Regions from separate parts of the Homo sapiens genome. Here all the other regions are linked to region 1. Evidence: promoter capture Hi-C in 16 types of primary human blood cells and fetal thymus (Javierre and others, 2016). All regions are on one chromosome and are shown on one strand. The core of a region is centred on a gene start or on the middle of the fragment in contact, and the rest is flanking DNA. Distances in the headings are between cores, read along the strand shown. Region 1 holds the start of BCL6 (BCL6 transcription repressor). Region 2 has its middle 43 kb from the start of TPRG1. Region 3 has its middle 29 kb from the start of TPRG1-AS1. Region 4 has its middle 11 kb from the start of TPRG1-AS1. Region 5 holds the start of TBCCD1 (TBCC domain containing 1). Region 6 has its middle 34 kb from the start of TPRG1-AS1. Region 7 overlaps LPP (LIM domain containing preferred translocation partner in lipoma).

The links. The method cuts DNA at HindIII sites, captures the fragments that hold promoters and counts their contacts. A CHiCAGO score of 5 or more calls a contact.
Region 2: a contact is called between a fragment that was not itself captured here and the fragment with the promoter of BCL6 in region 1, in 6 of 17 cell types (naive CD8 T cells, naive CD4 T cells, total CD8 T cells and 3 more). The highest score is 16.8, in naive CD8 T cells.
Region 3: a fragment that was not itself captured here is called in contact with the fragment with the promoter of BCL6 in region 1 in 2 of 17 cell types (erythroblasts and naive CD8 T cells); the score reaches 7.3 in erythroblasts.
Region 4: a fragment that was not itself captured here is called in contact with the fragment with the promoter of BCL6 in region 1 in 5 of 17 cell types (endothelial precursors, megakaryocytes, total B cells and 2 more); the score reaches 12.2 in endothelial precursors.
Region 5: a contact is called between the fragment with the promoter of TBCCD1 here and the fragment with the promoter of BCL6 in region 1, in 2 of 17 cell types (total CD8 T cells and naive CD8 T cells). The highest score is 6.1, in total CD8 T cells.
Region 6: a contact is called between a fragment that was not itself captured here and the fragment with the promoter of BCL6 in region 1, in 1 of 17 cell types (naive CD4 T cells). The highest score is 6.7, in naive CD4 T cells.
Region 7: a fragment that was not itself captured here is called in contact with the fragment with the promoter of BCL6 in region 1 in 3 of 17 cell types (naive CD4 T cells, total CD4 T cells and naive B cells); the score reaches 9.3 in naive CD4 T cells.

The regions. Positions count from the first base shown.
Region 1 is chr3:187,743,113-187,747,395 of GRCh38, forward strand. It overlaps BCL6 (BCL6 transcription repressor), which reads right to left and starts at 2,356. Exons shown (of 10, transcript NM_001706.5): 1 at 2,298-2,356. It overlaps BCL6-AS1 (BCL6 antisense RNA 1), which reads left to right and starts at 557. Exons shown (of 2, transcript NR_173091.1): 1 at 557-932; 2 at 2,132-2,914. RefSeq lists an enhancer at 1,469-1,994. The HindIII fragment of the contact is 3,720 bases long and covers 1-3,248 here.
Region 2 is chr3:189,127,017-189,131,299 of GRCh38, forward strand. It overlaps a transcript of TPRG1 not described here. Among named protein-coding and RNA genes, the nearest start is that of TPRG1, 43 kb to the right of the region's middle. RefSeq lists an enhancer at 999-2,198. The HindIII fragment of the contact is 5,198 bases long and covers 1-4,283 here.
Region 3 is chr3:188,974,110-188,978,392 of GRCh38, forward strand. No RefSeq gene overlaps it. Among named protein-coding and RNA genes, the nearest start is that of TPRG1-AS1, 29 kb to the left of the region's middle. The HindIII fragment of the contact is 907 bases long and covers 1,886-2,792 here.
Region 4 is chr3:188,934,645-188,938,927 of GRCh38, forward strand. No RefSeq gene overlaps it. Among named protein-coding and RNA genes, the nearest start is that of TPRG1-AS1, 11 kb to the right of the region's middle. RefSeq lists enhancers at 2,733-3,234, 3,354-3,855. The HindIII fragment of the contact is 1,954 bases long and covers 941-2,894 here.
Region 5 is chr3:186,565,613-186,569,895 of GRCh38, forward strand. TBCCD1 (TBCC domain containing 1) reads right to left here and starts at 1,727. Exons shown (of 8, transcript NM_018138.5): 1 at 1,655-1,727. RefSeq lists a silencer at 1,631-1,920. The HindIII fragment of the contact is 1,727 bases long and covers 213-1,939 here.
Region 6 is chr3:188,911,665-188,915,947 of GRCh38, forward strand. No RefSeq gene overlaps it. Among named protein-coding and RNA genes, the nearest start is that of TPRG1-AS1, 34 kb to the right of the region's middle. RefSeq lists a silencer at 2,816-3,110. The HindIII fragment of the contact is 9,743 bases long and covers 1-4,283 here.
Region 7 is chr3:188,759,050-188,763,332 of GRCh38, forward strand. LPP (LIM domain containing preferred translocation partner in lipoma) reads left to right here. Exons shown (of 12, transcript NM_001375462.1): 9 at 1,064-1,233. Among named protein-coding and RNA genes, the nearest start is that of MIR28, 72 kb to the left of the region's middle. The HindIII fragment of the contact is 1,155 bases long and covers 1,570-2,724 here.

The sequences.
Region 1 (4,283 bases), core at 1,106-3,605:
GCTCAGAGCCACAAACTGTATTTCTAAACAGCCCTTTCCCTGGTTCCCTCTCTCCTGCCCCACTTTTTTTAAAATCCAGACTGTAAAAAACACATCTACTGACACTCACTTTACTTTAAAAAAAGAAGAGAAAAAGTAAAGCGTTACAAGACTTTCCTCCTGGAAACTATAAACTGAAAAAAAAATCCATAAAAGATTAAATCCTGGCGGGTTGTGGGGTGGCGGGGGCCGGCGGGGAGGGGGCGCGGAGTGGAGATTGGCTCTCTGAGGTGGTCAGGGGCCCTGTGACAGCTTGGGACTTTCAGCACCTGGTTTGGGGTCATTTATCTGCTCAACTGTCAGGACCCCCCACCCCCAAACCCCAGCCACCAACACAACCATCGTAGAAGGGAACACAACACAGAGGGTCTTTTTTCATTTTTTTAAAAAATCGGTTTGGTTGTGTTTTTGTTTTCCATGGGGGAGCTTTAAAACTCATTATTGCAACACTAGTTCCATTTTTCGCCAGGGTTCCAATAACACGGCATCATAAAGGCAACGCAACCCACAGTTCTCAAGACATTTACCACGGTCACTACATCCGGCAGCGGGGTGGCCCCTAGCTCCTGCTGCCCCCCCGCCCTTTCTCCCCGCCCGCCCCCGGAGCTCAGCCGATTTCTGAGGCTCCAACTCTACCCACTCCCTCCCCGGGCCGCCGCCGCCGCGCCTTCCCCCATTCTTACTCCCTCGAGGAGAGCCACAGGTTGCAAATCCAACCAACCTCGCAATCTATTTTTGCAAAATCACTCACAAAGATCTCCCTTTCGCGCCCGCGCCCGCTCCTCCCGCGCCGGGTCCCCTCAGCCACGGCCACAAAGTGCCCTTCTCTCCTCCTGAGTCTTGCACATAAGGAACGCGGGCTGGGGCTCTGTTCGTCTTTCTCCTCGCCCAAGGTAAGGACCTCGGGAATCTGAAGCCTGGCGTCCACTACGCTCAGGCCCGCAGTTCCCTTTTTACAGAGCTTGCACCATGGGAAAAAATAAAATAAAATTTAGGAAAGGGAGGCAACAGCCATTGGGAGCCAACACAGAGTCACGCAGCGCCCAAAATACAAACACCGCAGCGGCCAGAAATCCCGCCACCTTTCTCGTTCTCCCAGGCTGTCCTGTCGAGGTTCCCTGAGTCCCCCCGCACACTGAAAGGCATCGCAGGTGCAGTGCGCACCCCTTTCCCACCCACCCCAAGAAGCCCTGTCCCGCCATCAGTCTCTCTCCTCGGGATGAGCAGGGAGAGCGCGCGGAGGTTCCCGACTCCCTCGACTACAACCAAGAAAGAATAATTTTCAAAGTGTTCAACATCCCCGCCCCCAAGCTCCCCAAAACACAGGGGCAGGGAACACCAAAACACTCGGCTCTCATTAGGAAGATCACGGCTCTGAAAGGAAATAGTAGACACGATACTTCATCTCATCTGGATTTATGACCAAAAAAACAAAAACAAAAACCCAAAGAGTTCGCTTGCATTTTTTCCTTCCAAATCTCGGTTCGGCTCGAAGGCAGGGAATCTAAAAGACCGAGGCCGATGGAAGAGAGCCAGCGGGGCGAGCGAGCGGGCAGCCTCCCTTTTTGCCTCCCGGAGTTACCCAGAAGGACAGGGGAAGGGAAGGAAGAAGAGGCGAGGAAAAAGAGGAGGGAGGGAAGCGGAGGCCAGGAGCGACGGAGCAAGGAAAGCAGTTTGCAAGCGAGAAAAGAGGGAAAAAACACAGCCGCACGAATCCAGAGAGATCACAAGCCGTACGCAAGCAGCAGCAGAAAGAGCGAGAGCGCGAGCGCGCGTCCTCTCCGCGGTCTGGGGCCAGACAGCCCCCAGACTAGCCCGAATCACCCCCCAAGCACTGTCTCGTCCTCTCTGCTCCGGCCGCCCCCTAATTCCCCTCCTTCCTCTCCTCCACCTCCTTTCCAAAAACCAAAACAACACAAGGGAGGGTGGCAAAAGCCTCCCCAAACCGGCCGATTCACTCAAAGACAACAATAATAATAATAAATACATAACAATCTATATCCTATGGTGGGAGAGACGTGGGACTAATCTTCGGCATTTATTTTAACACCTGACAGCTAGAATAAATAAATATATACATTTATATCAATAGATACACATAGAAAACTTGGAGCCAAAGCATTTGGCAAGAGCGGAAAAAAAAAGAATTAAAAGGTAAAATAATGATCATGAGCAGCGGCGGCGGCAGCGGCACCAGCGGCAACAGCGGCGGCGGCGGCAGTAGCAGCAGCAGCGGCGGCAGCAACAGCAATAATCACCTGGTGTCCGGCCTTTCCTAGAAACTTCTTGCATCACCACTTCTAAGAACCCCAGTTCTAAGAATCAACAGAGCTCAATTCTCGGAATTTGAGCTTCGGACTTTACCACTGCTACGTGGCAGGGGAGGACTTGGTGTCAGCTCTCCGAGATTTTTACTGCCCCTGGCCAACCAAAAGCCCTCAAAGCCACAAGATTTTTTCACTGGCCGGCATATTTCGAGGTCCTCATAAGCAGAGCGTCTCGGATTTGGAGGTTCCGGTTCGAGGCTCGAGGGGCCTGAAGGTGGCTCTCCCTCCCCGGGCCCAAGACGATGGTATGGCCTGCTCCGCCACCATCACGTGGGCTCCTCCTCTGTGACGTCGGCGCCTTCGCTGTAGCAAAGCTCGGCCTCTGGAATTCTGAGAACTAATTTGCTATTCGGTGACATAAGAGGGGGAGTGCGCTTTGCTTTCCCGGGGTCTGGGGCTAATTCCTTCTTTCTTACCCATAAACTCAGCAGATCGAGCTAAATGCACAAAAGGGAGCGAGAGGTTTGAACCACTGGGAAAAGTATGTTATATATATAGTAGGGTTAGAGAGGCGAGTAAGAGAAAAATAAAATAAAATAAACATCACAGCTCTTTCCAACTAGAATATTAGGCACCACGAGAAAAATATTTGCCAAGCAGTTTTCGGTGGGTTCATTTGCTTTATTTTTATTTAGGACAGGGGTTTTTGCTGTTGTTCTGGGTTTTTTTCTTTCTGGTGTGGTGGCTTGGGATTTTTGGTTTCTGTATTTTGATGGTTTATGGATTTTTGCTTCTGATTTTTTGCCTTTTGCAAGTTTGTGGTGTTACGTAAATCACAGGATCGGCATCGGTTGGATTTTTTTGTACGTGCCTTTTCTTTCCCTATCTAATCCCTCAAGCGTTTTAAAGATGTATTATTTCAATACTAATACTATTGAAAGAAGCTTAAATTTTTGGCCATATGTAACAATCCCAGCCCCCACTTTTTTTTTTTTTTTTTCCTTTGGTGCAATTTTCTTTTTCCCCCTTGGACTTTTGCTGAAGTGTGTCTCTCCTGCACTTCAGAGAAATGTTCAAAGGATTTGTTTTGGTTTGGTTTGTTTCTTTCCAGGACAGCAAGTGGTGGGTTTAATCTGTTATTGTTGACTCTTGGGAAATTTCTTGTTGCAAGAAACGTGTGTGTGGGGGGGAGGGTGGGGGTGGCGGGGTGGTATGTGTGTGTTTTCTACAAAATTCTGTGAGCCAAATACCTGTTTGTGTTTTGTTTTCTCTTAAGGTCTTGAGATTTTTGTTTTCGAGGCTCGTTTCAAGGTCGTTGTAAAAAAATCTCTTCAGTCTGTGTTTAAGAGATCAGCCGGAGGGAATTCTAAAGGCCTGCCGTGCCAGTATCACAGATACTGCCTGTATTTAGAACAGACTGCCACAACTACAATGCACTACACGCAGCACAGTCTTCTTAGCTTTGAAGCTGAGTTGGGGGGTGGGGTGGGGGGGGGGTAGAGAAGAAGGAGAAATTCTTTCCTTCTCTTTTTCTCTATTACTTTCTTTTTAAAGGCAATTGCAGTGCAGAATCATTTCATTGTGGGTCCTAGTTTGTTTGTTCAGAGCTGCTAGTTTCCTTATTTAAATGTTGGTTCGGGTTTTTTCCCCTCCTACTCATCCCTGAATAAGGGAGACTCTTGTTTCTTTTATGTCTCTCTCTTAAAAGAAGGGTGTGAGGGGAAAATAATATTTCAGATTCCTCAAGAATTAGCCCAAAATGTTTGGACCAGAAGCAGCTTTCAAAGGTCAGGCTGTTCTGAGCCTTGGCTATGAGAGTCCTTCAAGCGACTTATTAAATTACAGATGAATTCTTAAAGCTTCCACAAAATCTCGTCACTTGTTAATTTCTAATAAAGATATGTCTAAAATAATCTACCTATCTCAACCCAAAATTTGGGTTTATAATGGAGGAGTGATCAGAGCTGTGAAAGATTG
Region 2 (4,283 bases), core at 1,000-3,499, 1.4 Mb after region 1:
CTGTCAGTAATTACAAATCTGCATCTTCCCTTTGAGACAGGATTATTTATGAGGATGGCCTGTGCAAAAAGACACCCAGAGATTTCATGCTGTTGATTCACAGAAAGCCTGTTCCTCTTCACTCCGTAGAGTCCTCAGAGTCTGGATCATCCCTTACAGAAGATCCTTGATAATATTTCTGATATACCTCCAAGGTGAGTAGAAGGAACTATGGGAGTGGCAACCAAAAAGGAAAATTATGATGCCTATAGGAATTTGATTTCAGTAGCCAGAATAGCATTGAGGCCACAAAACCATTACTTAGGTGTCTGCTCCATCAAAAACTGGGATCCTAAAAGGCAAGATGTCAGAACTAGAAGGATTTTAGAGATCATATAGGTGCTGACATATGTTAACAAATGGAAACTATTGACACAAGTTAAAATTGTATCTGCCACAGTGTATATTATAACCAATGTGCCAAGTTAGTGGTCAATGGGCCTCTCAACTTTCAATTTTGAAAGTCACGTTTGCTTTGGAGATACCGTAGGGCATCTTGACATGAACATGACACAACCTTTGTCCTTAAGACCAAAATAAGAGATATCAATACAATGTGAATAACATGTGGCTATACTCCCAGGTAAAGGTCTTAAGGTCTTTTTATAGCAATGTGGAGATTCAGAGAAAAACAAACCATACTTGATTTGGAGAATAAAGGAGGTAAACTCACAAAAGAGATGGCCTCTGGGTAGAACCTTGAGGTCCAGATGTTATGGAAGAGAAAGAAGTATGAAATCAATGGCCTTTGTGAGGTAGAGTCTAAGTTGTCTTCCCTCAGACTCAGTTTCTCACTAGGAAAGTGAAGTTAAGCATAATTCCCTATATGCTTAGCTGGTATATGTAAAAATGTTGTGTTCAAAGTCTTCCTCCTCTTCTCTTTCATTCTTTCCCCAAAACCTCACTACAGGTCCCAAGAGGTGGGCTCCTACTTTAGTCTACCAGGACCATCTTATAGGTTGTTGCTGATTTTGATCTTTCCTCACAGCTTAAAAAATCTGCACAGTATTTTTATCATTGGGCTTTTGTGGGGAGTGAGAAGTAAAAATAACTTAAAAATTTTAAAATAAATTTTGCACAATTGCAAGATGAGTCAGAAAGGGAAAATTCCTGTTTGTCGTGTACTCTTAATGAATTCGTTTTGCTAGAGTCTTGTGATAGATGAACCTTTGTGCAGCTCTCCTGGAGCATGGGCCGCCATGGCCCTTGCATGGAATCATTGTACCAGAGCTGTCAGTATTGTGCAAAGACGGCCTGGAGGAGGGAAGAAGACACCTTCAAGAAAGGGACAGAGTATTGGAAGTCAGGTCAAGGTAGGTTTATCAGATTTAGGAAATAAAAATACAGGGCATCTAAAGAAAAAAATTGTTTTAAGTATGTCTCAACCATAACATGAAACATATTTATACTAAAAAAGTTGTTTATCTGAAATTCAAATTTAACTGGAGTCCTATATTTTATCTGGCAACTGTAGTTGAATGAGATGAAAAGGTCAAAGAGTTAAGAAGTAATAAAGATATTTTTATAAGGGTTTATAATTTTCGAAGTGCCCTCATGTTCCTTATCTCATTTTGACCTCATATCAACAAAATGTTGGTACTATTTCTCTAATTTTAGTGATAATGAAAGATTAGGCTGAGAGAGCTTAGGTAACTTACCTAAGGACATGCCACTGGTAGGTGTCAGTGTTGGCTCTTCAACTCAGTTATTTTATTATTAGCATTATTTTTTGAGACAGAGTTTCGCTCTTGTTGTCCAGGCTGGAGTGCAAGGGCGCAATCTCGGCTCACTGCAACTTCCACCTCCCGGGTTCAAGCGATTCTTCTGCCTCAGCCTCCTGAGTAGCTGGGATTACAGGCGTGAGCTGCCGCACCCGGCCCAACTCAGTTATCTTTTAAACTTCTTATTTTGAGATAATTTTAGACTCAGGAAAAACAAAAACAAAAACAACAGCAGCAGCAACTTCTCCTAATGTTAACATCTTATCTACCCGTGGAACAATGATTAAAAACTAAGAAATTAACTTTAGTACTATTCACTAAAGTATGGACTTTATACATATTTCATCAATTTTTTCACAAATGTCCTTTCTTATTCCTAGGCTCCAATTCAGAGTCCCACGTTGCCTTAGTTGTCAGGTCTCCTGCCATCTGTGACAGTTTCTCACAGTTTTTCCTTTTCTTTCATGATTGTGACACTTTTGAAGAGTACTGATGAGTTATTTTGTAGAATGTCCTTCAATTTTGGTTTTTCTGATCTTTTCTTGGGACTATACTGAAGGTATTGCAAAAGATACCACAGCAGGGATGCGTCCTTCTCAGGCTGTGATACCAGGTATATTATGTTGATATATATTATTGGTGACATTAACCCTGATCACTTGGTTAAGATGGCATCTGCTGGATTTTTCCACTGTAAATTTGCTGTTTCCCCCTTTGTTATTACTAAATATTTTGAGAAGTGACACTTGAGACTATAAAAATATGCTGTTTATACTTAAACTTTCCCTCATTAACTAATTTTAGCCTCTTGTGGTGGATCTTGCTTGTTGCCATTGTTATTATGATGTTGTAATGGTCATTTTCTATTTTCCTCATTTTCTCTATATTTATTAACTGAAACTCTCTGTTGGAAAGAGTTGTCGCTTCACTCCTTATTTAAGCTCAGTTATTTTAAGTCCAAGACTATTGCTTTTTTCACTAAAGCACAGATGAAGAAAAAAGTATAGGATTTTGAGCTATGGTAAAGTTATGATTGTTTCATGTGCACAGTGGAAGGAGTATGAAAATAATTTTACTTATTTTACTAACATTGATCAAACATTTACTTCTATACAGGGCCTTGTGTTAGGCATTGTGAAGGAAAGAGAAATGCACAAAAAATCTCATGGAGGCTGATAAATCAAAGATAATACTTAAGGTACTCTTCATAAGAGGGATAATAAAACTTCTCAGCTGAATGTTGAACTGATAAATGATTATGTTGATGACTATGGCAATGATAAGTGAATTGTAATGCAGTTATCAAGCACTCATGGCAAGCTCAGCTCTGAGTAATATAGAATATCCTCAACCAGATGATCATGATGTATGTACAGATCTTGGCACATACATCATGTGCCATGGGTTCTAGGCACATGCATAGTACCGAGTATGTTGGGTTATAAGCACCATGAGATCTTTCTCATAATTTATAGAAAGAAGAACTCAACTAGACAATAACTATTTTGACTGTCTTTAGGATCCATGATTCCTTTCTGCCTGGGAGAGATTATGAGGCTTCAGAGAATTCAAACATTGCTCCTCATTAAGGAAATGGTGAATTAACTTACATGTAGTACCTGAAAAAATTAAACTTCTATTCTCAGTGCTTTCTTAACTGGCCTAAAATGGACCTTACAGGTATAATCTCAGTAACTCAAATGTTATCAGAGGAAAATGGCCTGGCATGGTCAAAACGTAGCAGATTATTTTAACCAGTAGTTAATAAAACTGAACAACAGCATGAAAGAGAACACCAATAGTCCCTTGACATGGACTGTAATAGGATGAAACTAGAGGCAAATGTAGATTCCCTTCTGTGAGTGTGAGGGCTCTACTATCAAGCAACCATTTATATATTCTGGCAGAATATGAACTGCTTAGGACACACTCATAATGTGATGTGAAGAGTACCAATGTCTGTTAAAAAAATCCATTTGAAAGTACTATTTAAAAAATCCAACAGTAGAGCTATATATTCCAGCTATAACAGGCTTTCATTTACATTCTTCCTCAAATGCAGGTCATAACCTGAGTTTGAGATGCAGGGAATGACCTGCGTTTTAGAGAAGAGGAAAGTGAGGTTCAGGGCCATATGTGATTTTTGCTAACAATGGTGGATCTTGAGCTAGGATCCAAAACTTCTGATTATGAGATGTGTACTTTTTACCTCATGCCATGTTACCTCTGGCCGGTAAAATACCTAAAATTCTGCACAACTCTAAGTAACGTGATCGTATGTCCCACTTTGCCCAGAACAGTTCAGATTTATCCTTTTTGGCAGCATAATTAGTAATAATCTTACCTTTTACTCTAAAAAATGTTTTAAATCGGAGCAGCGATTATGTAGTAATTTCACTGATGGGAGGGCTCAGGGAGATTCCAACTTGGGCTTCAGTGTTTAAATTGGTGCTAAAGAAATCCCTAATGAGTTACTTCTATACATTACAAAAAGGCAATATCATTTAAGATATTATGTAAATA
Region 3 (4,283 bases), core at 1,089-3,588, 1.2 Mb after region 1:
TTTTAGAAAAGTCCCTTCCCCTCTCTGAGCCCCTGTTTTCCCATTCAGAAAATAAGAATAATAACCCTTATTCGTGGAGCTATTGTGAAAAAAAAGGCATGAATGCATGTGAGCATGCTTAGTAAACTGGGCAGTGGTTCCATTCTCAATTCATGCAGAGCAATTATAACTACCCCCTCCCCTAGTTGTCATTTGCATGTGGACCTTTCTCTTTCCCTTGCTTGGTAATTGACTTGAGACTGTGTTTTCCCTGGTTTTTGTTTTGTGTTTGGTATCTCCCTGAGAAAAGCCTGTTTTGGGCTCTGCAGGTCATGTGTGTTGTGTGACCCTGGAGGAGGGACACTATTCATAGCTGATAATGTGAATAGGGTCCTCCACGGTTCTGTGATGTAGGGGTCCTGGCCATAGGGCCTAGCGTGCTGCTGTCTCTGTATGTATTAAACATTAGTGACTCTTTTTCTGTCCTTAATACTTAAGCCCTGTCCTGAGGCATAAAATATTACTGTGTACTGACCCTGAATTGAAAATTTTGCACTGTATTATTCAGCTTCAGGCCTAGCTTTCAATTTCCCATTTCATTTTCGACTGGACTACACTGGTCATTGCCTTGAGAGATTTTTCCCAGCCACAGAAGTCTTCTGGTGAAGACGGTCTTTAGACTGGCAGGGTTTCAAAGTAAATATAAGTAAAATAATTGGCAAGTCTGATATTTAGGCTTTGGTGTTTTAATCCCCAATTCTTTTGACACTGGGCACATCTCAACAGCCAGGCTTGGAAGTGGTGGTGGGGGAGAAGGACATCACAGCGTATTTCTGCTGCACTCTCCTCTTTCCACTCTCATCTGTATAAAGTCTTTGCAGCATCTGTGAAATATTGTGGTCTAACTGCTATTCGATTCTTGGTGGACTTCCGTTTCTTCCTCTGTGCACTGGGACTAATCATACCCACATCTGAGGGTTGCTAAGGAGTGACATGAGATGCTATGTGTATGCCTCCAGGCACAGAGCCAGACCCCTGTTAGGTGCTCACAAAAGCAATAGGTGAACATGAAACCATGGTGACAAACAGCCTGCTTCTCCTCTTCTCTGACAATGCTTGTCTAGATTGGGGAGCTCTGACATAAAACTTTCTGTCTTACAATGAGAGAACAATCTATCTATGTGTAACTTCCATCTATGAGACCCCTGGGCGAGGATGGTGTGTCTTCCCCTTTTCTTAGCGTTCTCACTCTGTCCCGTAGTGAGGACGGACAACAGAGAGCTGCTGTGGTCAGCGAGCCGAGGAGCCAGACAAGGCTCTGTGGTTACGTACTTATTTAGTTTCTTATTTATTACTTTTGCAGTTAACATTTTTTACAATCATGTTATTTTGTGGTTTATTTGCAAAATGCATTGTGAGCCAAGTTTGCTTCAAATGTGCTCTGAGTCAGAAAATGGTTACATAGGGGACCCAGAGAGATGGGAGGGGAGGGTAAAGAGCAGCTGCAAGAACATCATATAATAGATATATCAGTTATTGCTCCTTGCTTTGTAATTAGGCTACTCAAGGTAGACGGAGAAATGGAAACAATGCATAATAGGCTCATGTGCGGCAGCGTGAACAGACTCTTCTGCCTCAGAAGTCAAATGCAAAGGGGCCAGCCTGGGACTTGGGGAAGAGAACCCTGGAGAGAGCTTCACTCCTGCTTAACCACCCATGAGCACCAAAGCAGCATCTTTGAAAATCTTTGGGAGACAACAGTAGAGCTTGGTTAGAGAGGCAAAAGTGACGGATAATGAATTAACTCATAAATACTATTAGAGGGTTTATTATAAATTGTTTTTGAAGATTTTAATAGAAACGAAAACCTAGTTTTCAGAGATTAGCTGAAATAAGTCCCAAGAGAAGCTTTGCCAGAAGCCGCTTTTCCTTTTAACTCTCTGTTCTTCCTTTCTCACCCCCCCAGGCAATGGTAGATTCCTAAGAGGACGCCTGTTGTTGGTGAAGCCCATTTTGACTGTGTTCAAGTTTGTTCTTGTATTATTCCATCTGGTGGCTCCCCAAACCGCTTTCTTTTTTTACTCTCCTTGTAAATATTTACATAAGAAGGTTCTTGCAAAGGCAGGATCCTATATTGGTGGATTGGCGCTAAGCAGAGTCTTGACGTGTTTTATTCCTTTTACGAACAATTCGGTTAAGTGGATTCTCTCCCAGCTCATTAAAAAATAGCCTTTTATTTTAATAACACCATCAGAAACTAAATAGCATCAGAGGGGAAAATAAGTTTGCAATGTGCAGCCTCAAGTGGCAATCTCTGAGCCACTGTTAGTGGTTGATGCAAGAATTGGTGATTGTAGTTAGTGGCTAAAATGCAGCATGCATTTAAAGGACTCATCTCCCTAGGCAGAACAAGGATCTGTGGTGTTTTCTGGGACAGCTGAATGCATAAGAGATCAGATAACTGGATCAGGAGATCAAGACTTGGTTCTCAAACTTCAGACTTCAGCTCATCTTGCCTTCCTCCCTGAGGCACTATCTTTGTTTGCTTTCTCTTCGCCGCCCTCCCTCTTGGACAAGTCCATCCTTGCCCACAGCTTTAACTGATACTTCTTTAGAGGGAGCAGTCAAACCTCTCTTTTTAGCTTTAACTTCTCGTTTGAGCCCCAGTTTCTGCATTCCCAGTTTTTCTGGACATTTTAAACAAGATTGCCATCGCAACCCAAACCTGACAGGACCAAAGCCAACCTCAACTCCTTCTGAACCTGGTCCCACTCTTGCTCTTGTGAGTGCTACCTTCCAGCCCCACCCAAACAAGCTTAATCCCAAAATCTGTCACCTTTGCCCCAACCCTGCATCCCCAAATCTAAAGCAGTTGCCAAATGATGTTGATTTTAATACTGCATGAAGACTTGCATTGGTACATCTGTTTCTGTCCTCGCTGTCATTGTCCTAGGCTTCCTTAAGCTCTATACATTTATTCATCCATGTGCTCATTCATTCAACATACGTGTTGATTGGATGGTTCCTGTATACTAGATATCTAGCAGGTGCTGGAAATATAGAAGTGAACAAGACAAAAAGAGAATTTGAACCTGTTCTCACGGGGGAAGATGCACATCAAAAAATTTATGATAAAACTTGTTAAATTTGACCATATAGGAAAAATAAGAGAAGTCACAGGCTTATCTGTCTTCTGATACTACCGAGCCCTGCAGCATGATGTTGCCATGTTCATTTGTCTGACTATGTCACTTTTCTGCTCAAATGCCATCAGTGCCCCTCAATGTTACCTATTTATTTCACAGCATTTATTTACTCATTCATTCATCATTCGTATGTTCTTTTGTTCTCCTTCACACCATGCTCTTCATTGTCTCCATGCTCTTGCTAATGTGGTTCCTTCTGCCCACAGCACTCTCTTTATACCTCACTGCACCCAGCCACTCGTCACTTAGTTAATTGAAGAGACACCTTGATTAATGCAGATGTCAACACTTCAAGGAAGACATCTCCACTCTTCACTGAAGCCTTTCATAACATGCTCACAAGCTTTTTCTCCATCCTTTCATCCCATCCATTAGGTACCCGTTCACTCTTCATACTTCCAGGACAGCATGATAGCATCTGATACCAATTAGTCTGTTCTGTGACACTAACCTTGACATAAACTTAGTGTTTGTAGAAAGTCTTTGAGTTAAAGCCTCCGTTTTCCCTAACACACAGTTTGATTTGACTGACCCCTCTGGCCTTTGTCACTCTGGCGTGGGGGTAGAAACTGTCTCCTTTAAGATACAGTCTACAAGAGCGTCTATTCACTGGGTTTCTTGGTTATTACTGGATTGTGTTAGATTTAAAACATGCGGAAGAGACAGTTTTGGTATGACCATTTATTATGTGACCTGGAATAAAAGGGAAGTGCATTATAAAGTTGGGCAGCAGCATCTTCATAAGAAGTATTCTTGTTTTTCCTAGGAATTTCTTAAAAAAGAGTAGAAGAGGTAGTATTGTTCTGTGTTTCTTTCCTTTTTTCTTCATCCAATTTACAGATGGGAAGAGGAGGTTTAGAGAATTGCAATTTGTACATGTTACAGTGGATTAGAAGAGATGATAGGGTTATTACAAATCAGGCATTATGAAAATAAATTTTGATATTCGATCACTTGCATTTTCATGGCTTCAGTGAAATTTGATTAGTGGTGTTTTGTTCAGTTAGTCTACTGTGTTTTGACTTCTTCATATTTAATGCCCTCTCACCTGACCGTTTCACCTGACCAGCATTCCTGAGAATGCAGAGTGTCAGCTGG
Region 4 (4,283 bases), core at 668-3,167, 1.2 Mb after region 1:
AGTTCAAGCGATTCTCCTGCCTTAGCCTCCCAAGTAGCTGGGATTACAGGCACCTGCCACCACGCCCAGCTAATTTTTGTATTTTTAGTAGAGACGGGGTTTCACCATGTTGGCCAGGCTGGTCTCGAACTCTGACCTCAGGCGATCCACCTGCCTCAGCCTCCCGAAGTGCTGGAATTACAGGCGTGAGCCCCCACACCCAGCCGGTGATTTTTTTTTCAAGCTCATCAGCTACTGTTAGTGTTAATGTACTTTATGTGTGGCCCAAGACAATTCTTCCTCTAATGTGGCCCAAGGAAGCCAAAAGATTGGACACCCCAGAAACAGTCTTGAAAACTTACTAGAACTTTGGCAGAATTAGAGAGGGAAGGGCCTGTTGGAGCAATGGAGAGCTTAGAGATTTTGGGGGGAAAAATCTTTTTGGGGGAATGGCAAGGGTCTGAAGCTTATTGGAAGACAGTCATGAACAAGCGGTCTGGAGCCAGACGAGTGCGGAGGACCCTTGAGAAACAGATGAGGTTTGGTTTTATTCTGTAGACAAAAGTGCCTTTGGAGGTGTCAGAGTAGATCAGATCAGAGCACAGCTTTTGTGAGAAAAGTGTGTCAGTCGTAAGCAAATGTACGGTGCCTTGCTTTCTTTTCCTGCTCCCCAGCAGGCTGGGTTTTAGGAAGGAAAGGCTGAGCAAAAGCTTAGGAAATGGATCTGACTGACTACTCCCACAAACCATTCTTGACCTTCTTTTGTAAATACCCAATTACCTGTTCATTTCCCCAATTAACTCATCAGTGAAATCAAATCAATCATTATTAATTCTAACTTTAATAAACATTTTTTAGTTTACATATATGATGCTCTTCCTCAAATCATAAATAACTGCATGATGTGTGTGAACTTTCCAAAGGTAGTTTAGGTGGAGAAAAAAATGACATTCAGTTAACAAGCTTATCAGAAGCTGAATCATTACAAATGACAGATATTAAAAATGTAATTAGAATATATATTGTCTAGGAAGACATGCCATATTAATTAGGGGTAAAAAGCCTATGTTTCAGCTCTCAGAATATAAAGTTGAAAGAAGCCTGTGGATTAATATCCATAATCATGGGCAGCGTTGTAGCATGGTAGGTTAGCACAGCACTGTAGTGTCAGAGCACCTGAGTTAAATCCTGGTTCTGTCCCTGTGAGCTATGTGACCCCAGGTAAGTATATAATCTCACTGAGCTTTAGCTTACCCACCTGTAAAGGTTAGATGAAAACAGCATTCTATCTCAGAGTTGCAAAGACTAGGTGAGCTAATATATTAATAAGTAGAACTCTCAGAACAGTGCCTGCTGTATCATAGATGCTATGTAAGTATTACCTATCATTATTTACTTTTTTTTTTTTTTTTTGAGACAGGGTCTTGCTCTGTCACCCAGGCTGGAGTGCAGTGCACAATCACAGCTCACTGCAGCCTCAACTTCCCAGACTTAAGCTATTCTCCCACTGCAGCCTCCTGAGTAGCTAGGACTACAGGTGCATGCTGCCGTACTCAGCTAATTTTTGCATTTTTGTAGAGCTAGGGTTTTGCCATATTGCCCAGGCTAGTCTCAAATTCCTGTGCTCAAGCAATCCTCCCTCCTTAGCCTCTCCAAGTACTGGGATTACAAGTGTGAGCTACCTTGCCCAGCCAGCTATCATTATTATTATTTATTTTCCCTTCACCTGCAAGGAAGAAGGGAACCCAAATGTGCTTGCGGACTTACTATGTAACACTTTTATCATTATTTCCTCATTTAACTTAATATGCTCACTCTTTACATAGGTTGTTATTATTAACCAAGATTATATCTATAAGGAAATTATGAGGAATTAAGTGACCTTTGTGGGGTCACTCAGCCAGAAAGTGGCCCACTGAGATCCAGGATGATCTGGTCCCAAGTTCCCAGCTAGCACAATGAACTCCCTTATATTGAGACTGTTGTAGGCAAGAGTGATTGTTCCAGTTTACTATGACCAATTTGACTAGGCATGATGGATTATTAATGATGGGAATAAATATATTTTCCTTTCCTGTTTTATTTGCTGTAATATAAGCAGTGCAAGACACTTTAACAGACTGGAGTGCTGAGTTGCCTGGTGCTCCACAGATATGATTCATTGTCGGTTCCATTGTAGATACAGACTGAGACAGACAGGAGGCAGCCCAAGAAAACTAGTAACAGCCTCTTGCTGATACTTCATGACCCTAAGGGAGAATGAAGCAGCAACTGAGGTTGAAGAAAATCCACCTGATAGGTTTAGTCAGTGAATGATTACAACCGCTTACATGTGGAGAGCTGAATAGTCACAAAGCCCTTTCCCATATTTACATATTCTCTACTCCTCATAACAACCTGAGATTGCTCAGGCAAGAATCATCACTGGGTTTGACTATTGAAACCAAGAAGGCCTGTAAGCAGCAGAGCGGATTTTGAACTTGGGCCTTTTCTCATTCAATTTTGCTAACTATCATAGTAGAGAAAAGAATGTCAACGTAAAAGGCAAAGTAAATAACTCTGACTTTGAGATGAACATAATGGGTATCCTTTAGATGCTGAGAAGGGTTTTATGGTTCTGTACTAGCACTGTTTGCCTTACGGTGATGTCTTTGCTCCTACAGAAAGGCTTAAGCTCAACCCTTTGGGGTATTAAAAAGAACAAAAGACTTGTCTCAGTTTTTATCCATTAAGGCAGGATCCGCTTCCACCTCCAGGAGTAGTTATGTTCTCCAAGGGGATCGGAGTGTGGGTCAGGGTTCAAAATCACTTCACATCTGATGTCAGACCTTGTTGTACCTCTATGCTTCTTTGATCCAAGTAGGAAGTAATTCTAGGAACTTCTGACCCAGTATTCTTGGTGGTGGTAATTTAAAAGCTTCATTCTTGGCATATTTGTGAGGGGCCCGTCCTGCTACACCCAGTCTCCCGAAGGAAGCAGCTGATTGAGTTCTCATCCTGCCTTTGTTTTTCTCTTTCAAGGAAAAATTCTTTGAGAGCTGAGTATGTCTACATCACACTGGCCTCGTGCCTTCCCATTCCAGACCCTAGATGACTGGTGAAAAGCAACGTTCTCTTCTTCAATTGCACGGTCGACTAATAGTGTGGTACTCTTCACCTGGGGAAATTATTTCACACCAGTCTGGTACTTGGCTGGGCTTCCTTGTGACTTAAGTTTGGAAACATTCAGGGGTATACCTTTTCTATCAGTCAAAGCTAAAGTTTCTACTTTTAGGAGAATTCTTTTCTAGCTCTATGTGGGATATTTTCCCCATGTTTATTATTTCCTTAATGGGGACACAAACTTCATCATGGTCAGGGAGAACTCCGATTTGATTACTTGCAGTGTGGGGTAGGAGAGAGTCAAGAGAAAGGGAACTTAGGCTTCATGTGCTGGTTAGAAGGGCACAGCAGGAGAGAGAATCAAGAAGATATTCGAAGTAGGAGGTGATTTTCCAGTATGCAAGAACAACATCTACATCTTGACAACAACTCAACGATATGTGGAACATGCTTCTGTTACCAGGGGTCTTTGCTCCCAGAGCTCCCAAGATGGTGGTGGGCTGCTTCCAAGATGGTGGCGGGCTGCTTCCAAGATGGTGGCGGGCTGCTTCCAAGATGGTGGCAAGCCTCGTATTCTCTGACGTGGGGTTCTCGGCCTCACGGATTCCAAAGAATGGAATCTTGGGCCATGCGGTGAGTGTTATAGCTCTATTAGGAGCCGTGGGTCACGGAAGAGAACCATGGAACCCAGTGACTAGTGTTCAGCTCGATTAGGACGAACCCGGACACTTAGCTGTGCAGGAACAATGACAAGCCTTTAGCCCGATCAGGAGCAGCAGTGGGCGCCTTGCTGGATCAGGAGCACAGCGGACACCCTGCGGGATCCAGGGGGATGGAAGTCAGCGGTGGGTCTGTGACGGCGGCCAGCATCAGTGGGCGGCGAGCGAAAGCTCAGCTCCAGCCGTAACAAACAGGGACCAGAAGAGTGCAGTTGCAAGATTTAATAGAGTGAAAACAGAGCTCCCATACAAAGGGAGGGGACCTGAAGGGGTTGCCATTGCCGGCTCGAATGCCTGTGTTTATATCCTGATCATTGTCTCTTCTGCTGTGCTCTCAGGCGATAGATCATTGGCTATTTCTTTACCTCCTGTTTTTGCCTAATTAGCATTTTAGTGAGCTCTCTTTACTATCTGATTGGTTGGGTGTGAGCTAAGTTGCAAGCCCCATGCTTAAAGGTGGACACGGTCACCTTCCCAGCTAGG
Region 5 (4,283 bases), core at 477-2,976, 1.2 Mb before region 1:
TCATTATTGAAGTGGGGTAATGGGTACGTGGGGGGCTCACTGATTCTATTTTTGTGTATGTTAAAAAATTTCATTACAAAAGTTCAAATGTTGTCACAAGTGTAAATAATGCTATCACTACCATCTTTCTTCATATTTTCTGCATTACGAATTATTTCTGTGTGAAAATTTTCAGATGTACTTTTGTGAAATTAAGTAATTGACATTTCTAAAGCTTGTGAAATATATCCTTGTTGCTTCCAAATGATTTTATCAAATTGTACCATCCTTTGACTCTGGTACCTACTTCACTGTGCACTCCTCAACATTAGCAACATCATTTTTTTAAAAATATAAAAACTAATTTAAAAAATCAATTATATGACTGATGAAAATTTTATTGCTATTATTATATTTTGCATTTGATTCTAAGAAAACTGTGCTTCTCTCTTTTTTTTTTTTTTGAGACGGAGTCTCGCTCTGTTGCCCAGGCTGGAGTGCAATAGCTCGATCTCGGCTCATTGCAACCTCCACCTCCCAGGTTCAAACGATTCTCCTGCCTCAGCCTCTCAAGTAGCTGGGATTACAGGCTCCCGCCACCACGCCAGGCTAATTTTTGTATTTTTTTAGTACAGACAGGGTTTCACCATGTTGGCCAGGCTGGTCTTGAACTCCCTGACCTCAGGTGATCCGCCTGCCTTGGCCTTCCAAAGTGCTGGGATTACAGGCGTGACCCACCGCACCCGGCCTGCCAACTGTGCCTCTCTCGAGAATCATCTGTTCGGAAAAATAACTGACATCAATCGAGTGCTTACTATGTACCAGGTATCATGCTCATGATTTTGCATACTTCACCTCCTTTCATCCTCACAACCACCTGGAGATACAGTACTTAAGACTGTACACATTTTCGATGAAAAAAAAATGAGGCTTAGCGAAGTTAAGGGATTTCCCTAAGGACACCTACTTAGCTGGCACAGCTCTAGATTAGGATTCAGGTCTGACTTGAGAACTGCATTACTATAAATGTACTCTAGGAATCCAGTTTTGGGAGAATCTCTTAAAAACGGGAGTGGATCCAGAAGAGAATTTCCAGAATAAAGAGTCTTAGACAGGAAGCCAGGTGAAAGAACCAGGGAGAGTAAACTCAAAAGAAGGGCGTGGAAGGGCAAAAGGCAGCTGTCTTCCAATGTGGAGAGACTGGAGTCGTTTTGAGTAAAACCAGACGATAAAAGTTAGGCGAGGAAGACCTCGGTTCTCTCCAAAATGTAAAGAGGCTGCTCTGTGAGGTACTGAGCCCCTGTCAACAGCCAGATCCCAGAGATGAGCCCTCCATTCTAACTCCGAGAATCGAGAGGGCTCAATCCGTAAACAAACATAAACTGGGGCTCTGACCCTGGCGGTGCCCTGAGGTTAAGGTTTTTCAGGTCGGGAGATCGGCGTGGGTCCAAGGCGGCTGTCCTGGGGCTTCGCCGCCACCTTGGACGCGATCCGGGGTGGGACTCTGCGTGGGCCGCCCCAGCGTCGCGACCGGACTTCAGGAACACAGACGCTCACGCTGACAGGGTCGGTAGCTGACCCGAGACGCGGTAAGCGCGAAGGCAGCCTCCTCGACCCAAGCCTGAAGCCTGACTAACCCACACCGCCCTCCCCGGCGCACCCAGTGCGCGGTTACCTGCTAATGCAGGCGCCGCTCCGCCGCACTTCTCCGCGCGCCGCCGCGCCCGGCGTCCGCTCGCTGGGCCCGCCCCTCACCCTCCTCCGCGCGCCGCTGCCGTGCCCACTGCGCAAGCGCGAGGCCCCGCACCACCGAGACCTGGCGGACCCCGTTGCTAGAGCGGCAGATTGCGGCTCAAGCGTCTGAGAAAATCTAGGCTGGGGTCGAGAGTCCGCAACAGTGGCACCTGGAGCCAGACCCACCGCTTTCTGGTGTCGCGCCTTTCAACCCGGGGGGGTAGGAAGCTTTCTGTTGCTCCGCATAACTGTGGTCAGCTAATAGCTGCTGGTAAGATCAGCACGCTTTCATCAGAAATGCTACTAATACTAATGGCAGTTTGCATTTATAGAGCACTTACTATGGTCTCAGCACTGTGTAAAGCAACTTTATGTGTATTTCCTAAGTCTTGTCAAGAGCCCTTTAAGTACATTCGTTTTACTGATGAAGAAACTAGGGCCTAGAAAGGTGAAAATAACACAACCCTAAGGTCACACAAGAGATGGAGCCAAGATTCAAGCCCAGGGCGTCTGAAGCAAGACTGGCACTCCCTGCCGCCCCTCGGTGTCAGCTCCTTAACTCTGTTAGCTTTCCTGCCGTGTTTCCACCTTCATGAAGCTTTTTCAGATTACCGGGCAGAAGCCATCACTCCTTCCTTTAAACTTCCATTTCAGAATTTCTGGACATTTCCTGCTTTTTTTAGTTCCTTTATGGCCTCTCTAGGTGTGATAGATACAAAGGTAAATTAGACCGTAAAATGCAATTTAGTTCCTCTTTTGTGTGGCCATTGTCCCTACTGGGTATCTTCCTGAAAGCAGGGGCTTCAAATTTACACATACCTGGGTTAGGATCCAGGCTGCACCACTTATTAGCTCAGTGACCCTGCTGTTACTTGTTGAGTACCACTGTGTGTCTGGCACAGTGGTACGCACTAGAATGACAGAAGTGAACAAAACAGACAAGGTCCTTGCTTTCTTGGAGTGTATAACAGGGAGAATAGACAATACATATTAAGGAATAAAATAAGATAATTTCAAATAGTGAAAAATGCTATGAAAATTGGGGCGGGGGGTCAGGGAAGGCCACTTTGTGGTGCCAAATTTGAGCTGAGGCCTGAAGAGTAAGAAGCCAGCCATACAATGATCACCATCCCAGTAACTTTGACTCAAAAGTACTTCAGCACCTACTCCATGCCAGGCACTGTTCTAAGGTGCTCTTTTATACAGCTGTGAACAGAACAATATAGATTCATGCTCTCATGAAACTGGCATTTCAGTGTGTAAGTCTAGGGACCAGGGATGAAAAAAATAGGAGGCCGGGCGTGGTGGCTCATGCCTATAATCCCAGCAGTTTGGGAGGCTGAGGCGGGTGGATCACTTGAGGTCAGGAGTTCGAGACCAGCCTGGCCAACATGGTTAAACCCAGTCTCTACTAAAAATACAAAAAAATTAGACGGACATGGTGGTGTGCGCCTGTAGTCCCAGCTACTCGGGAGGCTGAGGCAGGAGAATCGCTTGAACCCAGGAGGCGGAGGTTGCAGTGAGCCAAGATCACGCTACTGCTCTCCAGCCTGGGCGACAGAGCGAGACTCTGTCTCAGGAAAAAAAAAGAAATAAAGAAAAGAAAACAGGGTGGTGTAAGAGTAAGGAACTCAGTAGGGGCTAATTTTGATTAATTGGTCAGGGAAAGTCCTCCCTGAGGTGGCGACCTTTAAGCTGATATATGAGTTAAAGAAGGAATCACCCATGCTAGCACATGAGGGAGAGTACAGTGTTTCAGGCAAAGGCAATAGCTAGCACAAAGGCCCTCGGCAGGAATGAGCTCGGTGTATACAAAAAAAAGAAAGGAAGCAAGTTTTGCTGGAGCATGGTTAGGAGTATAATAGGTTTACAAAGCATAAACGGCTTTGTAAACTAGCATGGAGTTGGGATTTTATTCTAAGTGCAAATGAAGAGCCATTCCAGGCTTTTAAACAGGGGAGTGACATGATTTGACTTTTATTTTTTATTTATTTATTTATTTATTTATTTTGAAACGGTGTGTCACTCTGTCGCCCAGGCTGGAGTGCAGTGGCAGGAACTCGGCTCACTGCAACCTCCACCTCCCAGGTTCAAGCAATTCTCCTGCCTCAGGCTCCCGAGCAGCTGGGGTTACAGGCGCTCGCCACCACACCTGGCTAATTTTTGTAGTTTTAGTAGAGACAGGGTTTCATCATGTTGGCCAGCCTGGTCTCAAGCTCCTGACCTCAGGTGCTCCGCCCGTCTCGGCCTCGCAAAGTGCTGATTACACTTTGGGTGGGTGAGCCACCGCGCCCGGGCTTTTTTTTTTTTTTTTTAAATCATGGAGTGAGGGACAGGGATGAGCAACATATATTAAGATATTAAGGAAGATATTAAGAGTGGGGGCAAGGAGGCCAGTTAGGAGGCCCTGGCCAGGTGAGAGATACACTGTGACCCAGAATCCTGGTAATGGAGATGTAGTGAACAGATTGAAGTATAGTTCAGAGGTAAAGAGTTGGATAGCTTATGCATGAAAGGAATAAAAACACCTAGAGCTTTGTCCTGATCAACTAGGTGTTGTGTAACTGCGA
Region 6 (4,283 bases), core at 782-3,281, 1.2 Mb after region 1:
GATCAGAGAGAAAGCAAACTTGACCTCAGAGCCTAAATATTTGCCCCATAGTCAGTTAATACCTCATTTGTATTCTTCACTTGCCTTTATGGAACAGTTTAATATTTTATTACCTGTGAATTCCCTCTCTCTCTCTCTCTCTCTCTCCCCCCGCTCCCCACCACCCCAAAGAGAGAAGTGGATATCTATGATGTGGGAGTGTTGATTCAAAAGCTAGATTGAGTTTATCCTAGGATGGGGATCTGTCTGAAGAGGACTAGAAGATCTATGGTGATAGGTCAGCAGGTGATTATTGCAGTGGTGGCCAAACAACCTGCTAGAAAGGAAGGTTTCTAAGGAAAAAGAAAGAGTGAAGGCCTGTAATAAAGGTCCACAAAAAATGGGGCATTTGAAAAGAGAGAGTGTCTATTCATTCTCAGAGTGTTGTACCCATTGACTTCTGAACTGCCTGCTGCCTTAACTCATGCCAAAGCTCAGGAAAATGGATGCTTACAAAAAGTCTGAAACCAAGATTTCATTGACTACTTAGGAGCACCAGGCAGCTCCAATTTGGGGTCCATAGAACATCATTCTATCCAAATGTAAAGAAGGGCTGCACGAAGTAGCTCTGATGCTTTGAGTGTGCAACTATGAGTGATGTCTGCATGTTTAATAGCTCATATGCAGTGGAATTTCGGATGGTAGCATAGAAGGTTTTGCCTCAGTCCAGAGTCAAAAGAAAGAACTCGTAAGAACGAAATGAAATATCCCAAATGATGCACACGTAAGTCACCTCAGGCTTCTCAGAACTAGTTGTAAAGGACTTTATGGGGATTGTAGGTGTACAAGATTGTTTAGGGACTAAAATCATAGCCCCACATTTACTGCCAGGCTAAACTGGTGTATTAGTCTGTTCTTGCACTGCTATAAAGAAATTCCTGAGACTGAGTAATTTGTAAAGAAAAGAGGTTCAATTGGCTCACGGTTCTGCATGTTAGGCAGGAAGCATAGTGTCTTCTGCTTCTGAGGAGGCCTCAGGAAACTTACAGTCATGGTAGGAAGGTGAAGGGAAAGCAGGTGTCTCACATGGTGGGGGCAGGAGGGAGAGAGGGGGGGGAGGTGCTGCACACTTTAAAATAACCAGATCTCATGAGAACTCTGTCATCATTAGAACAGCACCAAAGGGATGATGCTAGCCATTCTTGAAGGATCCATCCCCGTAACCCAATCACCTCCCACCAGGCCCCACCTCCAAAATTGGGGATGAGAATTGAACATGAGATTTGCGTGGGGACACAGATCCAAACCATATCAACTGGTATATAGAAAACATGGGATTTGTTGTTATAATTATTATTAATATTTACAAAATCTTTAGTATAGTACCTAGCATATAATAGTCACCAAATGTTATGGAATATTATAAAAATTTCTAATACTGACACATAAACACCATAAATATGTTGATTATTTTGTCTGAAACTGTAAGACATTATTTTCATTTGAGAACTATTTACCATTCTGACTAGTGTGAGATGGTATCTCATTGTGGTCTTGATTTGCATTAGGTGCCCATCAACAGTGGATTGGATAAAGAAAATGTGATACCTATATAGCATGGAATACTATGCAGCCATGAAAAAGAATGAAATCATGTCCTCTGCAGCAATGTCGATGCAGCTGGAAGCCATTATGTAAGCAAATTAATGCATAAACAGAAAACCAAATAGCACGTATTCTCATTTATAAGCAGGAGCTGAATATTGAGTACACATGGACATAAAGATGGGAACAATAGGCACTGTGGACTACTAAACAGGTAGGGAGGGAGAGGGGCATGGGCTGAAAAACCTATTGGGTATTATGCTGATGACCTGGGCGATGGGATCATCTGTAAGCCAAACCCCACCATCACAAAATATATCCATGTAACAAACCTGCACATATACCCTCTGAATCCAAAATAAAATTGGAAAAAAAGAACTTTTTTATCTGAACTGTAAAATTTTCATACTTTTTTACATTAATATTTTCATACATGTACATATTTTCACATTAATTTATATTTATATACATCTCTAATATAGATATATTATATAATATTTAATATATTATCATATATAGCGTACATTTTTATGGTGGTTTTGGCTTGATAACTGTTTTGAGTGATATGTGGGAGATAGAAGGGAAGATAGAAATCTTACTAAATATGTCAAGGTAATATCTCTCATATACTGGGAAGGTTTATATGCCAGTTCATTCCTCCAATGTGTCCAGAGAAATCCCTGGATATATGTAGAAAGATTTCTAGGCTGGACATGGTGGTTCATGCCTGTAATCCTAGCACTTTGGGAGGCTGAGGCAGGAGGGTCACTTGAGGTCAAGAGTTCAAGACAAGCCTGGGCAACACAGCGTGACCCCATCTCTACAAAAAATAAGAATATTAGCTGGGTGTGGTGGCATGTATCTGTAGCCTCAGCTACTTGGGAGGCTGAGGCAGGAGGATTGCTTGGGCACAGGAGTTTGAGGCTGCAGTAAGCCATGGTCCCTCCACTGCACTATAGCCTGGGTGACAGAGTGACAGCCTTTCTCAAAACAAACAAAAAAATATTTCTAACATCTTTCTTTCTGTTTACTACATAACACCTAAATTAATTATCAAACAAGAACTAATTGGGCACAGCCACATTCTTAGCTTCTCCAAGCCTCAGTTTCTTCTCCTGCAAAATGAAGATAGTTGTAAAGATTAAACTAAACTGTGTACGTAAAAAGTTCTTTGGAAACTATAGAACAATGCAAATGCAAGGCATTGTGACCACAGTTAGAGAACAGGCTAGGATATTTGTTGATTGTCGTTGGTATTATGGAAATTTGCTGCTTTCTTTCCTATGAGAAGGGTTCTTCCCTTGTCCTGTTCTTATCAGTCTGACTAAGTCACCATTTCAAAGCTGACAATTAAAGCTCAATTTCCTTGCACTTTGTCCTAAAGCAGATGTCCTAGAGCTGGGGACCATAATCATGAAGCGTGTGATGCATTCTCAGAGTTGGAGAGCAGTGTTTCCAGAGAGTCTGAAGATTAGGCATTTCCTCTCATTTTTCATTTTTGTCAGCTTCTTCATGTTTTCCTTGCTAAGTAAGAAAAGGCCTCGGTTTCAGTCTGTCATTGTATGACCCTAAATGAGTCACTTCTGTATTGGGTTGTCTTAGGTTCCTCAACTGCAAGTGTCTAGTCTTCCACTCACATGCAGCAGAGCAGCTCCACATTTACTTATGTTACTCAGAGGGTTACTTCACATAAGACTTTATAAAATAAGTTCCATTGTTAATTTCTCTAAACCAGTTGGACTACATCTTTTCATGTAAAACCTAGATGATCTCTGATACTCTTGGTTTTTACATGTAGATTCCACGATCCCTTCCTGGGAAAGTCATGTAACCAACTATAACATAGGAGCATTAAACATTTTTAGGTAATAGAATTAGGAAATAATGGCTGTGTAAGTATCCATGTGAATTCCTGTCAATAGTTCTCATATCATGTGCTTAGAATGATTTCAATCTGACTGAATCTTGCCAAGAAACTCATAGCTCTGCTTTCCCTGCAAATATGAAGATGTGTCAACCTCAAAGAGTTGGTTAAACTTTCTGTTTCACTCATACAAGTCTGGCATCAAATTCATTTAGCTTTGTGGTGCTTACCCATTACCCATTTGGCAGATTTCACTAGCCATGTGACAAAGGCATAGTCCAGCTCAGAGCATGCAGAATTTGGAATAATAAATAGTGACCCTCCTATTGGGGCTCACACCCAAGAAACGTCTTATCTTCTGGGGGAAAACCAAGATTAAGACATTGGTGGCCAGGCACAGTGGCTCATGCCTGTAATTCTAACACTTTGTTGTGTTGTTTCTTGTTTTTCTTTTTTTAACTTTAAGTTCAGAGGTACAAGTACAGGTTTGTTACACAGGTAAATTTGTGTCATGGAGGTTTGTTGTATAGATTATTTCATCAACCAGGTATTAAGCCTAGTACCCATTAGTTATTTTTCCTGATACTCTTCCTCTTCCCACCCTCCACCCTTCAAAAGTTCCCAATGTGTGTTATTATGTCCCTCTATGTGTCCATGTGTTCTCATCATTTAGTTCCCACTTATAAGTGAGAACATGTGGTATTTGGTTTTCTGTTCCTGTGTTAGTTTGCTAAAGATAATGGCCTCCAGCTCCTTCCATGTCCCTGCAAAGGACATAATTTTGTTCTTTTCATGGCTGCATAATATTCCATGAAGTATATGTACCAGGTTTTCT
Region 7 (4,283 bases), core at 897-3,396, 1.0 Mb after region 1:
TTTAACTTAGTAGAAACAAAGACTAAGAAGGGAAACTAGATGTGGACGTGACGTCTAGCTCAAGATTCCCATGATGGAGCCACATAGAGATATGGATGGCAACCAGCATAATGCCTCTCACTGACATAACTATTTGTCTGAATTTATATTTTATTGTTATTATTTAAAGCTTACTGCAAATTTTAAAAACTGAAACCTGATGTCCATATGTAGGCCAGATGCCACATTAATCAATTTAAGAATGCTGGAGCTTCGCAGAATACTGCATGAACAACGAGAACCGTGGCCCTGAAAGACTCAAAACCCTACAGTATATGAAACTATTGCAGGATGTGTGGATGTTCAAAGGAATAACAGACTTGGAAGCAATGCTTACTGAATTTTGATGTATTAAAGGATGTCAAGTCCAAGAGAGAGATAAGGTCTCAGAAGACAGAACTAGAACCATGGGGTAAGCAGTTAGAATGAGGAAGCACTATGGCTCAGTAGGAGAAAGAACCTTTTAGCCATCAAAGCGATCTAGAAATTAAAGGACTGCCTTGGGATCTGCCTGTCACTGAGAGCTGGCTGCAGAGGTTTTACAATCAGGGCTTTTGTAAAAGGAACTAAAATTTGAGTTTGGACCCAATTATCTTACATTCTAACTGGATGTGTAGAATCTCCAAGAAGAAAGACTCTTCTGTACTGTTTTATAGATTTTGCCTTCCACTCCAAACATCCTGAGTCATGTTCCTTTTATACTTGCATGTGAGATGAGAGTCAGAGCACTGACCTCAAAGCCAGCGACCGGGTTCTACTGTTCCTTTCTGCAAGAACTTAGACTATGAGACTCAATCCCCTCAACCGATTAATGTAAAATCCCCTCCATGCCAATCTTGCAGAGGATAGGGGTGGCTGTACTGGTGATCTTGCTGGGGTAATGGGGTAATAGTACTGGGGTAATGACGGCAGGAGTGGTGGTTCTATTGCTGCTGACGTTATGAACCTGCTTTCTCCTCCACTTTGGCTTTAGCAGGACTGAAGTACTCCTTGGTGTGTTCTTATCAAACCCTTTTTTTTCCAGGCCGCTGTGCTCGCTGTGGAGAAAACGTAGTTGGGGAAGGTACAGGATGCACTGCCATGGATCAGGTCTTCCACGTGGATTGTTTTACCTGCATCATCTGCAACAACAAGCTCCGAGGGCAGCCATTCTATGCTGTGGAAAAGAAAGCATACTGCGAGCCCTGCTACATTGTAAGTTCCAGATTTGTTCCTCAAGCACTTTGCAAAGATGTCTTCTGTGGCTGAATGCCAGTCACTCTAGATAGAATATAGCCATCAGATCTTTGCTTCTTCCTAGACTTCAAAATGTGTGTGTGGGGTGTGTGTGTGTGTGTGTGTGTGTGTGCGTGCGCGCATGTAAATTAGCATATTGTAATTTTTTTCTACACATCCCCCATTCATAAGCAGTCAGAAAGGTGTATTAGCATGGGACTGCCATTCAGTTAGTGGTCTGCTGGGAAGATCATCAGCCTGTGGCTTTCTAGCATGTATGTACAAGCTAAAATTTTCTTTCTTAAAGCATCAGAAAGCTTTCCAAGTAGCTGAGTCACACCTCTTATAAGATCTCACCCTACATTTGAAGTGCCCAGTAGTTTCAAGGAAACTTTACAGAATCTCTGGACTTGTCAGTCCTCTTCCAGAATACTGGGCCCTTTGAGTCCATTTTTATCTACCAAAATGTTTCTTCCCCCTCTTATCCAACAGGTTTTTAATGATGCAAACAGGGGAACTGTTTATTATAAAGCACCTTAAAGAGAAATGAACAGTAATGCTGACTGAGCTAATCATTGTTTTCTTTTATTACAGAACACAAAAACTATATTTTAATAATATACCTGGGTAACTAAAAAATTCTCAGTCATGTTACCTTAGCGTTTTACAATGCTACTTACTTAATCTACCTGTTAAACTATTCTCTGGTAGAGTAATTTGATGAATGAACACAGACTTTTTTCATCTATTGTAAATTTCTTTGCTATCCTTCAGCATGATTTTAATCTTTGTTTAACACATGTTGATGGGAAAAGTAGTGTTTTTTGTTTGTTTGTTATGTAAACCCACAAAACAGTCATGGTTTGTCCCTCAGTGCCCAGAGATTTCAACATAAAAGACACCTTGGTTTCTTTACCAAGGTATTGGGAGTCATACTTGGCTTTACAAGGTTCACATTTATTGAAGACGTTTTTGGCCTGGTTGGTATTTTCCTATAACTTGGCAGCTCTAACCCATTGTAACCTTGGGGTCTGTAGCACAGATCTGAAAGTTCATCAAGATTAAGGCTTCGTAGGATTAAATATGGCTTTGCATCTGTCTTAGGTTCAATTTTATTTCGTTTTCTTTCCAAAGGTAACTTAATACATGTAACATCATTTCTTTCCAAAGGTAGCTTAAACACATGTAGAGCCATACAGTGGTAGAGTTGGAAAAAAAATCTTAAAATCATTTGCGTAATTACTCTCTTTAGCAATGAGAATGCCAAGACATACAGAAGAGGAAAGCGACTTCGTATGACCTATCATTAGTGTCAGAACCAAGGCTGCATTCCGTTATTCACGCTCCACAGTCTTAGATTCTTTGCAGATGCTACATGGTTTTCATTTTCCTAAACATAAAGATAAACAAAGTAATGTACTGTTGATCTGGAAGGAGCAATTATGCATAAGCGAAAGTCTAGTAAACAAAAGCTTACCTCTTTAGAATATAAGAATATTTCAAATATCTTTGAAATCTTTATTGAAAAAAGAAAGGCATTACATAATTCCTTGCCTTTTTAAACAGACTAAACCGGGTGTCATTCACAATGGCTTGGCACCACGTTTATGAAATTATTTATTGCCACGAGCCCTAAGGTAGTGATGTTGGCAGAGTGTGTAGAGGCACCCAGGGTTGTCCTTACACCAAGTAAACACATACTGCTGTGTTTTTTTATAGCTCCTGTCTATTTTTTATCCCTTTTTGACTCCATAGTTGATTTTTGCTACTTTAATGATGCTACTGTGGCAGCAGCCTTCTTCAGTTGTTTTGTTTCAACCCTTGTTAGCTTGAAATCATATAGACAGTATTGGGAAACAGTGTAACAGGGTGGGAAGAACATGAATTTGAATTTCGTTACGTCACTTAGTGCCTCCCCTCCTTGGGAAAATTATTTACTCTTTCTAAGTATCAGTTGCCTCATCTATATAATGGGGACGATGGCAGTTATTTTCCATGAAGAAGAAATGAGACAATCCTAGTAAAGCACACTGGGCCTCTTCAGGAAAAGTAGTGGAATAAATGTTATTCTGGGATTAACTTTAATGATGTTTCTGAAACTGTTTAATATTTCTGAATGTGGGAACCTTACATGTGCAGTGAAATTCACTGGGCTTTAGGAAATTATTATAACCTTTCAGACATACTCCTCGCATTTTTACATGTTTGCTTGCTTTTCTGAGTGCGTAACAAAACTGGAGAAGGTCTAATCTGATTAAATAATAGGTTTCTACAGTGTGTGGGCTCAAGTTTCTATCTCCATTCCAGGCATAGTATGGGTCTCTGTGATTCTGTAGGATGCCAGCCCCTTCTTCTTTGGTTTGTTGTTACTATACTATGCTTATGAGAAGGAAAACTATCCGGGAGATATTTAATCGCGTACTTGGAAGAACTGGGTGAATTCAAATAATGGAAATTCTAACCATTTTTTTTTTTTTACTTCTTTCCCTCATAAGAACATTTAATCAAGGTTTTTCTTTAATGAGATCTATTCGTGGTGACTCTAAAATGTAATTTAATTCTTATCAGAATTCAGTTAAGCTTTACCAAAGACCCTTGTTCAATATTGATTCGAGTTCAGCACAGTCCTCAAGCCCTCAGATGGATGTATCAGAACTTTAATTTCTTCTGAACTTTTATATGTCCAATAAGCTGCATACTAGAAGTGTAAGGAGGTTGAGGAAATTGGGCAAATGAAATAAAACAAGTTGGCTTTGAAGATAGTTTGCATTAAGGAGAATCCTAGAACTATGCGTCTCTCTTGGAACCAAAAGCCTTAGAACAGGAAGCATATTCTGTGTGATCCAGCAAAATTGCCTTTGGTTACACTGTTGAAAACTGATGTCTAAAAGGTATTCCATACAAACCAGAGCAAACCTAGCCCTTGGCCATCAGTCAGTGTGCCTGTCTTTTTTTTTTTTTTAATTGATGGAATGAGAATATTCAAGATAGTGGCTTAATTATTTTTGTATAAGGACCAGCATGTTTGA